2 separate regions of the Homo sapiens genome follow, and region 2 is linked to region 1. Evidence: promoter capture Hi-C in human tissues and cell types (Jung and others, 2019). All regions are on one chromosome and are shown on one strand. The core of a region is centred on a gene start or on the middle of the fragment in contact, and the rest is flanking DNA. Distances in the headings are between cores, read along the strand shown.

What was found. The method cuts DNA at HindIII sites, captures the fragments that hold promoters and counts their contacts. A contact is called where the count stands out against the background at its distance.
Region 2: a fragment that was not itself captured here is called in contact with the fragment with the promoter of ST6GAL1 in region 1 in 1 of the 25 tissues and cell types used here (thymus).

Annotation. Positions count from the first base shown.
Region 1 is chr3:186,927,267-186,932,428 of GRCh38, reverse strand. ST6GAL1 (ST6 beta-galactoside alpha-2,6-sialyltransferase 1) reads right to left here and starts at 1,903. Exons shown (of 8, transcript NM_173216.2): 1 at 1,595-1,903. RefSeq lists silencers at 1,483-1,672, 1,913-1,992 and an enhancer at 1,680-2,288. The HindIII fragment of the contact is 4,331 bases long and covers 1-2,009 here.
Region 2 is chr3:187,189,182-187,194,270 of GRCh38, reverse strand. No RefSeq gene overlaps it. Among named protein-coding and RNA genes, the nearest start is that of RTP1, 5.8 kb to the left of the region's middle. The HindIII fragment of the contact is 6,597 bases long and covers 1-5,089 here.

The sequences.
Region 1 (5,162 bases), core at 654-3,153:
GAATTACTCTTTGTTTCACCCTATTCTGCCTAAGGCCACTGCCTTTTAGGCCAATCACAGAATCCCGGTTTTGCCTTTAGTTGCCCGCTGAGCGATGCAGTGGGAGTTGGGAGACCCACACTCAAGTGTTCTCTCTGTGGCCCGTTTCACCCGGTTTAAACTTGGACAAGTGGCTGAACTCTCCGGCCTCAGCTTCCTGCCTGTAAAATGAGAAGGCTCCCTAGATGCTCTCTAGACCTTTTCAATAACAGCGGAATAGGATTGGAGGCTCTCCAGTTCCCCCCCCGGGGACAGGTTAATCTTCAGCCACACTAGCCAAGGTGAGGCAGCAGCCCGCCCGCTCAGCAGGCACACACTGGGGCGGCGGCGCCTCCATTCCTGCTCACACTGCACGCCCACAACCTGCACCAACACCATCGCCTCAGAGACCAATTCACCGCGAAACCATCTCCCCGCTGCAGATCGTGTCCGATTAACATCTGCAAAGCTGAGCTGAGCATATGTAAGCAAAGAAAAAGCAAAACAAACAAGAGTTCTCTTTTTCCGGACCTCGGAATTTCTTTCAAATAAACTCAGAACTGAAAATTGTACGTCCCCAGCTAGAATACGAGGTCTCGGCTGGCCTTGCTTGCGAAAATGCATTAACAAGCCAAAAGGGGCTAGTGACATCTGGGGTGTCTGGGCACACGGACACGGGCCTCAGAGGCAAAGAGCAAGACCGCACTGGGCGACTCGTACATTCTTCCCGCAGGCTGAGGAGGCGACCAAAATATCCCCACAGAGGCAATCGCCGGAGTGCGGGGACAATAGTGCACCCAGCACTCTCTTTTTTTGAGGGGCACCCTTAGACCCTTAACCCAACCCACATCTCTAAGAGACCTCCAGGAGGTGAAGGTGAGGGGTGGTCCACTTCACCCAAAAGAATGCGCCACGGCCGGGGACCGACTCAGCCTGGAGTAACCTTTTTGTAGCTGCTTTCTTGTTTTGGTTTCCCTTTTTAAGTCTGGCAGTTTAGTCTGATGCCCAAGCGGTACCTTTTAAATGTCTCTCTCGCCCTCTTCCAGCAAGTGGCGCCTCTAGAGCCACTCCCTCCCCCGAGGCTGAGACAATGGCCCGGCACCGCAGGGCGGCCCCTAAGGGTATGCAGTGCGTCCAGCTCTCCGGGCAGGGCGCACGTGCGTTTGTTATGGTGCCTGTGCCCCCTCCGCTGCCGCGGGCCTCAATTTGTCGATCCGTAAACCCAGACTCTGCAAGGCGCAATGCCCCCACGCCACCCCACCCCATACTGACGGTGCCGTGGAGAAATCCGTGTTCCCCGGGGCTGTGCGCACGTGGGTTTGTTGTGGATCCGCAGGCTCGCGGAGCCAGAGAGAAGCCAGGGTGGCCCTTTGGCCCTGACAAAAATGCACACACCCCCAACCAAAAGGCGGCCAGCCCCGGAGCCAAGGCAGCTGAGGCGGAGCTGGAGAGAGATTCCCTGCGCCCTACGCGCGCCGCGGGCCCCGCGCCTCCGCTATCCTCCCGCGCCCCTTTGCATCACACTCCTCCCGGGATAGCCCGGGCCGCGCCGCCGCCCACCGCACCCCCTACTCACTCGCTGCACTCTCGGCCGCGGAGGCTGCGGTTGCTCAGCACGCTCGGTGGCGGCCGCCCGCTCCGCGCCCACGCCGGTCGGTATCGGCTCCCTTTGTTAACGCCGGGCAGTGCCCCAGGCGTCTTCCCCAGCCCGGCCCTGCCCAGGACTCCCCTCCCCCAGGTGACTCCAGAAAACGCGCTCGGCAAGGGCAGGATCGCCCGGGAGCTGGGGACCCCACTAGGGAGTCTCGAAAGAGGGGTCCGCTGGGGAAGAACGGGGGACAGAAGACGCACAGTGGAAGGGACTGGAGAAGGAAGGAAGAAGAGCGCGGCGGAGGGGCGGGAAGGAAGCGAGTCGCCTCCGTATGCAAATAGAGTTGCGAAGACTGGGTCGGTCTCCGCCCCCACTCCACCTCTCGCCACCGGCCACACCGCGCCCCAAACCGGCCTGGAGGTCGCTAGCGAGCGGGCTTGGGGTTAAAGACTCTTGATGAAGGCACTGGGTGATGCTAGAATCCTGCCTGCTCTCAAGGAGGGTGGATCGAGGGCCGAGTGGGAGGGGCCACGCGGCTGCGCAAGGACCCCTAAATGCCTCTTCCCCGCTTGGCCGCGAGGGGTCAATCCAGCAGTGTCCGGCTTTTGGTCCTAACATGCGGGTGCTGTACACCCGGTCTCTGCTACCGGCTGACTGCGAGACCCTGAGGAAGTCGCTTAACCTCTCCGAAGACTCGTGTTGCTCTTATCTAGAATAGGAAAGAACAAAATCTTTCACTGCGTTTGGCATTAACCTCCTAACATTGAGGCATGACTCCTACTGGGCGCTCTCAAATGGCAAATACAGAAGGAGAGGAGCGTCCTCGAACCCCTGCACCCAGAGGCTTCCACCCCAAGCTGCAGGCTGAAAGACTGAAGCCTCAGCCTGGATGGTGAAGGGAGCGAGGTTCTTTCTTTTCACCCGGACGACGGTGGGGCTGCTGGGGAAGGAAAGAGGATTAACCAAGCTGCGTACTGACCATCCCCGATAGCCCCAAGGCGATTTCCCTAAGAAAGAAAAACTGCCCAACAGGAGGGCGGAAGGGGCCTTTAAGGCCTCCAGTCCAGCCTCCCATAGCCCAAAGAGAGGATGTGACTACCAGAGGCAATAGTCATATCCCAGTTGTCTACTGAGTGCACACTAGGCACCAGGCTGTGTGCTGGGTGGGAAAGGGGAAAGGAAGGAGATACTGGAAGGTTTGGGGGTCCTCTGGGAACACAAAGTCCAGTGCACACTTAAAGTGCCTGAAGCCCAGGCCCAGAGTTCTGTCTCCAAATGAGGTGCCTACCCCACATCACCAACCTTGGAAAGGGAAGTTACATCCGCACCCTGTCCCCAGCACCCTTCTTCCAAACACTGCTTCCTCCCTGTCCTGATCCTGGCTCCCTTCTGCTGATACTGTCATTCCCTTCCCTGCTGCCCCTGAGGCATTTTTGCTCAGTACAAAGAGCTCCAATTGAAGGGAGTGCCAGCCAGAGTGAATTCAAATCTTTATGACCAACTCGCTGTGCCTTCTTGGGTGAGTTCCACATCCTGTGAGCCTCCCTTTCCTCTTCTGCAAAATGGAGATATTAAGGAAAGCGTTGTTTTCAGGATCCTGTGAAATGACCTACGTGAAACACGTAGCTTAGTGTTTGGCATATAGAAGGTGCTCCTGACAGTAAAATGTATGTATGCGTGAATGAATAGAAGCAGCCAAGTTCAGAAGACTATTTCTGGAAGGATGCTACATTGAAGATTTTAGGCCCTATTCGAAAAAGGGAAAAAAAAAAAGGAGGCTATTAAAAGATTCTGTGCAGTAGCATGACATGCATCTTTGTATTTTACAAGGATTCCTCTGGCACCACACTGGAAAATAGATGGCAGAAGCAGAGAATGCAAGAGACTAGATTGGAAGCTGACATCAATGGAGATATAATAAGAGCCTGAACTGTGTCAGTGACTGTAACAAGACAGAAGAAAAGGACATCTAAATAATAGCTACCATTTGGAGATCTGACATGGTTTGGCTCTGTGTCCCCACCCAAAAATCTCATCTTGAATTGTAATCCACATGTGTCAGGGGAGGGACCTCCTGGGAGGTGATTGGATCGTGGGGGGCGGTTTCCCCCATGATGTTTTTGTGATAGGGAGCTCTCACGGGATCTGGTTGTTTGATAAGTGTCTGGCATTTCCCCTGCATTCTCTCTCTCACCTGCCGCCATGTAAGATGTGCCCTGCTTCCCCTTCACCTTCCACCATGATTATAAGTTTCCTGAGGCCTCCCCAGCCATATGGAACTGTGAGTCAATTAAACCTCTTTTGTTTATAAATTACCCAGTCTCAGGTAATTTATAATTTTCTCAGTAGTGTGACAATGGACTAATACAGGATTCAAAGCACCTTATTTATTACATTGTCTCTCCTTTTCATCAGATAAGTAATGGTCTTAGTCCTATTTTATGGATTAGGAAACTGAAGTCATCTAGGAAGTGAAGAGAGAATTTGACACATTCTTCCACTTTCTTTGAAAGCTTTAATCATCTCCTTCATCATCACCCATATGTCAACATTACTTAAGAACTAAGAACAGCCTGGTGCGGTGGTTCACGCCTGTAATCCCAGCACTTTGGGAGGCCTAGGCGGGCGGATCATGAGGTCAGGAGACCAAGACCATCTTGGCTAGCACAGTGGAACCTTGTCTCTACTAAAAACACAAAACAAATTAACCGGGGCTGGGCGTGGTGGCTCACGCCTGTAATCCCAGCACCTTGGGAGGCCGAGGCGGGCGGATCACAGGTCAGGAGATCAAGACCATCCTGGCTAACATGGTGAAACTCCATCTCTACTAAAAATACAAAAACAAAATTAGGCGGGCACGCGATGACGGGCGCCTGTAGTCCCAGCCACTCAGGAGGCTGAGGCCGGAGAATGGTGTGAACCCAGGAGGCGGAGCTTACAGTGAGCCGAGATCACGCCACTGCACTCCACAAAAGCAGAAGGCGCTCTTTCAGAGGTTGTCCAGTCCCCACTCCGCAGTTCTCTTTTGCAGAGAACTGGAAAACCAAATTAAGGAGAAAACAAGGGAAAAGGTTATCTCAACACTGAGATAAGCACAGATGATATGACACGTGCAAAAATTTCCTGGGCGTCTGAGACAGATGAGTGGGCAAGCAAGGGTGCTCCTGGTAAAATTCCAGGATGGGGGCCATTGTGGAGCAGCCTCCACCAAGGTTCTCTCTTATCACTTAGGACCCTCTGACCTATAAGTGAGAGGCAGAGGCTGGGGCATTACTTTGGAGATGATCCTGTCCTCCCAGTCTATACATGTGAGGCTTCTCCTCCCATTTTCTCTGGGGTCCCTGCCTTGACAGGTTGGTTTTGGTTTTTTTGAGAAGTACAGATACCCACTTTCCCTCTGGACAGTATCTCAGTTCTGGGCCCTCCACCCACAGCTTCCTGCTATGGTCTGCATGTTGTATCCCCCCAAAATTCGTACAATGAATTCCTAACCCCCAAGATGATGGTATTTGGAGGTGGGGCATCTGGAGGAGGTGATTAGGTTATGAGGGCA
Region 2 (5,089 bases), core at 1,014-3,513, 260 kb before region 1:
AGGCTGGTCCCAAACTCCTGGGCTCAAGCAAACCTCCTGCCTCCACCTCCCAAAGTGCTAAGATCACAGGCATGCGCCATCTCACCTGGCCGGCATTGGGAAAAACTCTTAAGTTCTTCAGGACCCTTCATTAAACTTTCAGTCCTTCAAGTCAGTATTCTTACCTCTGAATTAAGGCAACCAACACCTAAATAAGTAAACTCGTTTAACAAACCTCACAGATATGATGGGAACTGCCTCAGGTGGGAGTTACTGGCCAAAATGAGAATGGGGGCTGTGGACCTTCCCAGAAAATACGTGAAGCTGAGAGGAGCTTATAACAAACAGTGCTACCCAGAACAAATCCTCTAGAAGTATTTTGCAGGTGTTGCTACAATAAACACTATGATGACAGAAGACAGAAAGTAAGAATCACCAGAGGGGTGTGTGTGTGTGTGTGTGTGAGTGTGTGTGTGTGTGTAACCAGCTGATGCAATCCCCATTGGCACAAATTAAGTTTTATTTAGAACCCAAGCTTGCTGTGCAGAGGCCAATATAATGCATCCTTCTGGATAGCAGAGTATTTTCTCTAATAAAAATTTCTATCAAGACAGAAAAAAATACTGTGGTATTGCAACTTGCTCTCTATCAAATGACCTCTAACACCATGGAATCTACAATTTAGAGAAGGCCAATTCAGACATCTCTAAAGCTGTTGGCCTCACCCTGGTCAATTTCTTAAAGTTTGTGATCATGTTTTAAGTGGATAAAATGCTTTAAATTAAGTTCCCAACTAGAAAATAGAGCAATGAAAAGAAAAAACAAGCCTCTAATTTTTTTTCTTGAAATGATGCACTCATGAAAAATTCTCAACTATGCACAATTTTCTATCCCTAAATGGCATTTGAGAAGAAGGAGGGGTGTGTTTTAGGGCTGGACCCATGACTGGAAGTTTCTACTGGTACCCTGTACCAAAGATCTAAATGTGCCTCACAGTCCCAAAACAAAGACTCTTTCCTTCCAGAATGCCCCAACATTGCTGGACCAGAACAGTAAGCCCCTCCATCTGTTGATTTAATGATATTAAGAGCCCATGTAGTAGTCTCAACTTTAAAGGAATTTTTAATTTTCTTCTCTAATGGCAACATTTTTTTTCCTTGGGTACTAAGATTTCTAAAATAGCAGAGATCAAAGTTATGGGTACAGAAAGAAAAGGGAAAAAAAACTAGTTTACCATTAGGGCTAATTTTGAGAAAGCCAGTCCATTCTACCCTTTAATTCTTGGAACTAAGCACTATATCATCATGGTTGCTAATTCTGAGCATGTACCACATCCTGGAGAACATTATCCTAGCCCTGCAAGGTCCTGTCCCCCAGCTGATTCTATAACTGAGTCTTCCAAAGACCACCACATTGTTCAATCAGGCCAACTACTTCAGGATTATGGGTGATATAGTTAAGACTAATGAATTTCATGAGTGTGAGCTCATTGCCAGATTTCCTTTACTTTGAAATGAGTTGCCAGTCAGAAGCAATGCTATATGGAATATCACAATGGTATATAAGGAATTCTCTAAATCCACTGCTAAGTGCCTGATATGGTTTGGATTTGTGTCCCCACCCAAATCTCATGTTGAATTGTAATCCCCAATGTTGGAAGAGGGTCCTGGTGGGAGGTGATTGGATTATAGTGGTGGATTTCCCCCTTGCTCTTCTGGTGATAGTGAGTGAGTTCTCATGAGATCTGGTTGTTTAAATGAGTGTAGCACCTCCCCCTTCGCTCTCTCTTCCTCCTGCTTCAGCCACGTAAGACAAGCCTGCTTTCCTTCACCTTCCGTCATGATTGTAAGTTTCCTAAGGCCTCCTCAGCTATGCTACCTGTACAGCCTATGGAACCCTGAGCCAATTAAACCTCTTTTCTTTATATTAATAAATTACCCAGTCTCAGGTATTTCTTTTTAGCAGTGCAAGAATGGACTAATACAATGCCCAAATTCCAAAAACAGAGAGAGACCAACACTGAACAATTGATTGGGCCATGATTCCATGGGAAACAACCAACGACCTGGTGGCAAGTTGATTACACTGGACCATTTCCATCAAGGAAGGGATAGACCTTTGTTTTCACTGGAAGAAACAATTACCGTGAATATGGACTTCCCTTCCTCTCCACAATGCCTCTGCCATTTGTGAACTTTCATAATGCCTTATTCACCATTATGGTATTTCTCCACTTGGGTCTTTCCTTTTAGCTGCTCAGGCTTCTTCACTACATGGTAGTTTGTTTCCAAGAAGATTCATTCTAGGAAGAATAAATGGAAGCTTCCAGTCCTCCTTAAGGCTAGAGTCAGAAGTCCCATAACATCACTCCTGTCATATTCTGTTGATGAAAGCAATCACAGGGCCAGCCCGATATAGGGGAATGGGAAATAAACTTCAACTCTTGATGGGGAAATTGCCTGTGCCTATAGGAAGGGAAGGAATTGGTGGCAGCCATCTTTGGAGACTTTCTACCACAGTACCTGATTATTTTTCTTCATCCTTCAAAGAGCTTAGTGCCTTGAGAACACGATGTCCAATTCTATGATGTAGGTAGAGGTTGACATTATTTTGCAAAAAAAAAAAAAAAAAAAAGCAAACTAAGGATCAAAAAGGCAAAGTAGCCAAAGAGTAAACTAATCCAGCAAGTCCAATCCCAAAACATAGCCAGATAGGAACAGTAGGGCTGCTCCCTTTGGGTCAAAGCAAAGGAAAGCATTACAGGTACCCAGCCTGCCAGTACCACCCACCTCTGCATGCCCAGTCATGATTTATAAGAACCTCTTCCTTTGCTTCCCCTCCACCCCAACAGCAACCATTGAACTTCTTTTCCAAGCTCTTGCTCAATTTTGTGAGGCATATGTGCCTACCATCAGCGAGGGCCCTTCAGAGATATACAGCCCAAAATCCAAAGTCCCCCAGTCTTCATTCTCTTGAAGTTTTATCCCCATAAAACTCTGTGTTTTTTTTTTTCAGAGATGGGTTCTGTCTATGTTGCCCAAGTTACTCTTGAGCTCTCAGGCTCAAGCAATCCTCCTTTTCAGCCTCCTGAGTAGCTGGAATTATAGGCACACATCACTGTGCCCAGTCTATGTGTTTTGTTTTTTCTATGTTTGTTTTTTGAGACAGGGTCTCACTCTGTCACTCAGACTGGAGTGCAGTGGTTCAATCATGGTTCACTGCAGCCTCGATCTCCTGGGCTCAAGTGATCCACCCACATCAGCCTCCCAAATAACTGGAACTACAGGCATGCACCATCATGATCAGCTGATTTTTTAATTTTTTTTTTTTTTTTTTTTTTTTTTTTTTTTTTTTGTAGAGGTAGGGTCTCACTGTGTTGCCTCGGCTGGTCTCAAACTCCTGGGCTCACGTGATCTTCCCACCTCAGCCTCCCAAAGTTCTAAGACTACAGGCATGCACTACTGCCCAGTCTCTCTGCTTTTTTTTTTTTTTTCAAGTGCAAGATCTTGTCTTTGAGAAGAGCATTCATCAGAAAATGTTCTATGGATATTACCAAGGGAACAGTGCCATGGTCCAGGAAGTGAAGAAGGGCATACTTGAGAGAAATTATCAAGTCCTCAAAAACTAATTTCCCTATTTTCAGGATATTTGATCTAAAATAAAAGACAGCTTCCTTCCCCTTATTCTGAAGAAGGGGCAAGGCAACATTACATGTGGGGAAGCAACAATGTTATTCATTTATTTGTTTTTTAAAACACTCTGAATTATCAACTACCATGTGCCAGGCTCTATACTGGACACATGGGATATAGAGATAAATTAGTCTCACTCATTTCATGTCCAGTGAACATCAATAGCCAGGTGACCCACACTAACCCAGAGCCTTTGGCTTAGGACATGAAGACTGACCCTTAAGCATGTTCCTGTTGCCAAGCAGCCACTATTATGGGAACGTATCTTCAGACTGTACCCCCAAGAGATTCTTCCTGAAGCAGTTTTGGAAAGATATGCAACCGTTCAACCCTAATAACATTTCATGGAAGGTCTAGTAGGAAATGAAGTCACTGTACATTATCAGACCGTCTTACTGTGGTTGAATGGCATACTCATGGAGTTCAGAAGACAGGACACAACTTTCCTTTACTCTTCCATCAAATCTCCAATAGGTCCACTGAGAGTCCACCTAGAATGCATGTCCAGAACTTCCCCTTATTTTTTCTGGTCTCCTTTCTAGGTCTTCTCTTTGATCTCTTCTGCTCTTCTACTTTCTCTTCAGGACCTTGCTTCAACCTTCGGTGTAGAGTATCTATAAGCTAATAACCTTTCTCCCACTAATACTGACCACATTCCATTGCATAGCTGTCATTTCTTACTATGCTAACAAAGTTTATGTCCCTTTATTCTATTATATCAAAGACCTCTACTCACTAGGGTAAAAAGAAAGAAAGAAAGTGGAGGAAGGAGTAGAAAAAAATCCATTCTGATGCACACTTGCCCTCCTTCTGAGCATGATCTTTCCAAGAAAAGCAATAAAACAAGAAAACTTGGTCCTCTCTTTTGCAAATGAGAGGAAACCGCTCTGGACAGCAGATGTGTATTTCACAGTGGCCACAGAATAAACCTGAATCACATTTGCATTCAGTCACTTTGGCTGAGTCTCTACCATATGACCTGAAAATACAAAGATGTATAGAACAGAATTATGGAGTAAAAGGGATCTTGGAAATTATCTAGTCTAATCCTAATCAGATGTGCCAGTGACTCTGAGACATTTCATATGAAGACATAAATAGGTATAAAATAATCAGATTTTAATTTAGTGAGAAGATGGTTCTTCATATAGAATGAGGAGACTTCACTGTCTATCTTTAGACAGACCCAGTGATCTGGGATTAGGGTTGCCTCTGAAATTGAAGTAATAACCAATGCCTATTGAGAGCCAAGCAGTTACCTAGCCTGAATGTGAACATTTCCAGTGATGTGGAGCTCGTTATCCAGTGATAGCAGCACTCTCTAACCCCTGGCTATTAAGAAGCTCTTCTTTACTGAGTGCCACCATCTCACTTTCAAAACCTTGACTCTCTGTGCCTTGCAATAGAAAGCACTTAAC